Regions from separate parts of the Homo sapiens genome. Here region 2 is linked to region 1. Evidence: promoter capture Hi-C in human tissues and cell types (Jung and others, 2019). All regions are on one chromosome and are shown on one strand. The core of a region is centred on a gene start or on the middle of the fragment in contact, and the rest is flanking DNA. Distances in the headings are between cores, read along the strand shown. Region 1 holds the start of PPP1R13L (protein phosphatase 1 regulatory subunit 13 like). Region 2 holds the start of SLC1A5 (solute carrier family 1 member 5).

Region 1 (2,700 bases), core at 14-2,513:
GACAGGACGGTCGATTGGTCTGAAATTCTTGAAGAGACAGGTAAGAATACTAGTTAGTAGGGCTGTGCTTTCTGTGTTAAATGTCTTCTGGGGAGGCCCAGATGCCTCACAAGTTCAGAACTTGACTGGGAGAAGCGGGAAAATGGAGAAATAGGGGCAATCCGTCCGGAGGGCGTGAAGTTCCAGCCAGGGGCGGGGCTTCTGGACTCCGGGGGAGCGGGAAACATAGGGGGAGGAGCTTGTGGTTCTCGAGGGCGGAGCCTCGGACCCAGGAGCCCCACACGCGTGGAGTGGTGCTGGGCACGGTGTAGCGTTTGTGGATCAAATGGGACTTGTAGATGCCCTCGGGGGTTTAGTCTCATGCGTGGGAAACCTCGATGACTTTCAGGAAGGGACCTGATCGGCGACTCCTCCCTGCCCCAGGGAGCGTGTAAACAGCGGCACGTGGACACAGATTTGGGGGACGCACCCACTTCCCTTCCCACTGGGGCCGCCCCGCGTTGGGCGGCGGTTGGAGCCGCGAGACGGTGGCTAGACAGGGTGACCCGACTGCATTCCTGGCCAGTGTGTCAGCGCCACTTCCCGCCCCCTCTGCCAAGATTTAGGATCCTACTCCAGAATTGGGGCACCCCTTCTCCCCAGGTGGGAGAGGCTTTCCAGAGCGGAGGGAGGGTCAAGGGGAAGGGGAAATGTTTCCCCTATCCAGGATCTCCAGACGGTTTCCTTCGCGTGGGCGAGAGAGACACCGGGGTGCAGCCCCTGCGGGCTCCAGGACTACAATTCCCACAGGACCCGAGGCAAAGAGTCGCCCGAGGGCGGTCGCGGAGGCTGCTGGGGGTTGTAGTCCAAACTAAGATTTTGAACTCTTGCTGGGACATCCTTTGAAGATCCAACCCGCGCTTTTTATCGACGGGGAGATTCGGGCTCAGAGACCCTGGGGGATACTGATCAGGAAAGGGGATAGTGCGCCTGAAGGGGTGGGGCAAGGGCTCAGGAGTCAGTCTCCAGCCACAGCGAGGCAGGCGTCTCGGCTCTTCTGTATCTCCCTGGCCTGGTCGCTCTCGGCTTCTGGGCCTCGCCCTTCCTGTCTGTGAAATGGACTCTGGGTGAATCCAAATGGGATCGTCTTGGGCTACGTCCTGTCCCTCCGGGACTACAAGTCCCAAGGTGCTCGAGGCGACCTTGGCTCCCCCTCCCCACCGGGACCCGCCTCCCTCCAGCCCAAGTCACGTCGTCTAACCTGTTCCCAGCTCCTGCCCCGCCCCGTTCTCCGCTCCCCAAGCCGGAGCCCGAGCTGGAGGAAGCCCCCAGGTGCCAGGATCTGCCCGGATCCGTGAGTTTCACCCTCCTGGGGACCAGAGGCCCTGAAAAAGCCCAACACCCGCGTCCCTGGGAGGATTGGGAGGGGACTCGGACGCCAGGTCCCAGGGCGGAATTTGGGGCGCGCCGACACCTGGATCCTTAGAAGGAAACTCCGTTGCCTGTTTTACTGGAGGGAAGGAAAGCGGGTTCGGATGCCTGAATTCTTGGAATGGAGGGATTCTACCCCTTCATCCCGGGGAGACGTTGGAGCTGGAATTCCTGAGTCCCTCGAACTGGGGGGCTCTAGGAAGCCGAGTCTTTGGGTAGTATAGGGGTTCGAATCCCCGAGTCTTGGTCAGAAATGAGAGGCTCAGACTGGTGGGGCTCAAGGTGGAATGGGTGACCACCCTGCCAGCCTCAAGCTGCTGTCTCGACCGATCTTCTAGGTCTCTGAGCAGAATTAAGGGTGGGGCAGGGATAGTGGAGCCTGGGTTCCTGAAGTGGAGCAGGACAGGTACCCGGGGTCCCTCCGGAGGCTGTGTCCCGGCTCTCCCCCGACTTTTCGGCTCGGGGATGGGGGCGGGGTAGGAGAGAAAACACCGAGGCAGATCTCCAACCTCCTCTGTGCCGCTGAGCGAACCCAACATGTCATTAACCTGGGCGTCAGACCTGCCTAACCAGAGAAGGGACATCCGCCCTAGGGCACCCCCTGGCGGAGGTGGGCTCCCCTATTGCCTTATGGGGTGGGAAACAGCTGGGTTTGCAGAGGTAGTTCTAGAACCCAGGGCAGAATTCCGGAAAGCGGCTATTGGATTCTGGGAGGTTTGCATAGCCGGGCATTTAACCATTACACGGAGAGGAAGGGGTAAACTGAGGCTTGGAGCTCACACAGGCAGTAGAGTTTGTAGGGTCAGGATTCTGCCTCCTCCTTCTTCTGCAGCTCTCTGGGGGACGGGATTCCATCCGCCCCCGCCAGATTTTCTGACTAACCTTCTGCCTCAGGGCTCCTTGCCCTGACCCTGAGGTGAGAAATGTCACCTCCACGCCCATCTGTCTGACCTGGGGTATTGTGGGAGATAAGGGAGGGACAGAGGCTAATTCTGGAGGTGTCTGTCTGTCCTTGAGGCGGGGGGAGGGCAGGACCAGGCACCTCCCTCTGTCTATCTCCCCGTTCTCTCCACCCCCATGCGTCCTAAGAAGGGGGATTAAAAACAGAATGGGGGAGGCGAGCATCTGATGAGAGAGGAGTGTTTCCCAATGTCTGGGCTTGAAGGGCATTTGATGATAACCTGAAATGAAATTAAAAATAATAACCGTGGTTGCCAAAACAGGGCTCTGGGTGTACCAAGCTCAGAGCTGGTAGGTAGGTAGGTAGGAAAGCTCGCATTGTCTAGAGGA
Region 2 (2,700 bases), core at 51-2,550, 1.4 Mb before region 1:
CAAGCAATTCTTCTGCCTCAGCCTCCTGAGTAGCTGGGATTACAGGCATGTGCCACCACACCCAGCTAATTTTTGCATTTTCAGCAGAGACAGGGTTTTGCCATGTTGGCCAGGCTCGTCTGGAACTCCTGACCTCAAGTGATCTGCCCGCATCAACTCCCAAAGTGGTGGGATAACAGGCGTGAGCCACTGCGCCCGGCCGTATTATCTCATTTGAACCCTTGCAACACTCAAGGCGGTATGACTTATTATTATTCCCATTTACACATATGAAGACTGAGCCTCATAGAGGTTGTAAATTACCTGAGGCCTCACAGCTGCTGTAGGAGGAAGCTTCTGACATTACCACTACAATCTTTGAGCAAGCATGAAAGCCTGAAATGTCACAGAACAGGCTAGAGATGGGAAAGGAATGAGGATTTCAACACTGTCAGGTGGAGTAAGGAATCATAATTCATTGTTAACCTCCCAAACGGCCACTAACAGAGAATTTGGGGAGGCAGCAGAGTGGGTGCGGTTAGGGGCTTGGGAGGTGGGCATGCACGTGTCATCCTCTCTAGGTGTGGCCTCAAGGTGAATGACTTCCTCTGCCTCTGGGGTTCAAGCGATTCTCCTGCCTCAGGCTTCCAGTAGCTGGGATTACAGGCACGTGCCACCACACCAGGTAATTTTTGTATTTTTAGTAGAGACGGGTTTCACCATGTTGGCCAGGCTGGTCTCGACCTCCTGACCTCAAGTGATCCGCCCGCTTCACCTCCCAAAGTGGTGGGATTACAGGCTTGAGCCACGGCTCCCTAAATAAATACATCAATTTTATTTAAATCTTACAGCAATCATATGAGACAAAAGCTTTTAACACCTGCACTTTATATTCGAGGAATTAAAGTTCTCAGAGGCGACTAAAGACCAAACTCAGGGCTGAGGAGTTCCAAAGCTGAGTTGAGTTGCAAATGAATCACCGAGGACCACCGGAGCTTTCTAGCGACCCTCGCACCAGGGAACGAACCCCTGTGGTTTAAGGGCTCCAACCCACAACCCAGTTCCTTTGGCGGGAAACAGCACCCTCCCAAGGCCCCGCCCCTTCCTGGCCCCGCCCCGTCGTCTCTGGGCCCGGCTCCTGGAGATGGGTATTATTAATCTGCCTTCTATGGGGGACCTGGCCCATCTCGGGTATCAGCCCCGCCCCTACTCGTCCAGTCTCCGAACGCTCTGCAGCCAATCGGCGCCCGAGGGTCGGTCCCCGCCTTCTCAAGCCCCGCCCCCTACCCTTATCCCTGGCAGCTTCCGCTAAACGGGCTCAGAGCCACGCGGCACGCCCGGGAGGCTTTCTCTGGCTGGTAACCGCTACTCCCGGACACCAGACCACCGCCTTCCGTACACAGGGGCCCGCATCCCACCCTCCCGGACCTAAGAGCCTGGGTCCCCTGTTTCCGGAGGTCCGCTTCCCGGCCCCCAGATTCTGGCATCCCAGCCCTCAGTGTCCAAGACCCAGGCAGCCCGGGTCCCCGCCTCCCGGATCCAGGCGTCCGGGATCTGCGCCACCAGAACCTAGCCTCCTGCAGACCTCCGCCATCTGGGGGCACTCAACCTCCTGGAGCCAAGGGCCCCACGTCCCACCCAGAGAAACTCTCGTATTCCCAGCTCCTAGGGCCAAGGAACCCGGGCGCTCCGAACTCCCAGCTTTCGGACATCTGGCACACGGGGCAGAGCAGAGAAGCCTCAGCGCCCAGCCTGGGGAATTTAAACACTCCAGCTTCCAAGAGCCAAGGAACTTCAGTGCTGTGAACTCACAACTCTAAGGAGCCCTCCAAAGTTCCAGTCTCCAGGTGCTGTTACTCAACTCAGTCCTAGGAACGTCGGGTCCTGGGAAGGAGCCCAAGCGCTCCCAGCCAGCTTCCAGGCGCTAAGAAACCCCGGTGCTTCCCATCATGGTGGCCGATCCTCCTCGAGACTCCAAGGGGCTCGCAGCGGCGGAGCCCACCGCCAACGGGGGCCTGGCGCTGGCCTCCATCGAGGACCAAGGCGCGGCAGCAGGCGGCTACTGCGGTTCCCGGGACCAGGTGCGCCGCTGCCTTCGAGCCAACCTGCTTGTGCTGCTGACAGTGGTGGCCGTGGTGGCCGGCGTGGCGCTGGGACTGGGGGTGTCGGGGGCCGGGGGTGCGCTGGCGTTGGGCCCGGAGCGCTTGAGCGCCTTCGTCTTCCCGGGCGAGCTGCTGCTGCGTCTGCTGCGGATGATCATCTTGCCGCTGGTGGTGTGCAGCTTGATCGGCGGCGCCGCCAGCCTGGACCCCGGCGCGCTCGGCCGTCTGGGCGCCTGGGCGCTGCTCTTTTTCCTGGTCACCACGCTGCTGGCGTCGGCGCTCGGAGTGGGCTTGGCGCTGGCTCTGCAGCCGGGCGCCGCCTCCGCCGCCATCAACGCCTCCGTGGGAGCCGCGGGCAGTGCCGAAAATGCCCCCAGCAAGGAGGTGCTCGATTCGTTCCTGGATCTTGCGAGGTCAGCTCCCGCTCCCCCGGGAGGTGGGGAAGAGTGTTACGGATGGCGGGAGTGGTCACGTGGACAGGACGGGGCTTTGGGGCCCCTGGAGCAGAGACTTCCCTCTAGAGTCTTAGGAAAACTCGACAGGATATTGAGGGGAGGCTCCAGCCCTCGGGAGTGTGAGTCTAGTCTCCTGGGGAAGGGGTTTCTAAATCTGGGGGCCT

The links. The method cuts DNA at HindIII sites, captures the fragments that hold promoters and counts their contacts. A contact is called where the count stands out against the background at its distance.
Region 2: the fragment with the promoter of SLC1A5 here is called in contact with the fragment with the promoter of PPP1R13L in region 1 in 1 of the 25 tissues and cell types used here (stomach).

The regions. Positions count from the first base shown.
Region 1 is chr19:45,403,632-45,406,331 of GRCh38, reverse strand. PPP1R13L (protein phosphatase 1 regulatory subunit 13 like) reads left to right here and starts at 1,263. Exons shown (of 13, transcript NM_006663.4): 1 at 1,263-1,333. RefSeq lists enhancers at 412-611, 582-1,377. The HindIII fragment of the contact is 18,212 bases long and covers 1-2,700 here.
Region 2 is chr19:46,787,194-46,789,893 of GRCh38, reverse strand. SLC1A5 (solute carrier family 1 member 5) reads left to right here and starts at 1,300. Exons shown (of 8, transcript NM_005628.3): 1 at 1,300-2,494. The coding sequence starts at 1,929. RefSeq lists silencers at 983-1,142, 2,113-2,162, 2,173-2,222 and enhancers at 1,088-1,382, 1,031-1,632. The HindIII fragment of the contact is 6,368 bases long and covers 592-2,700 here.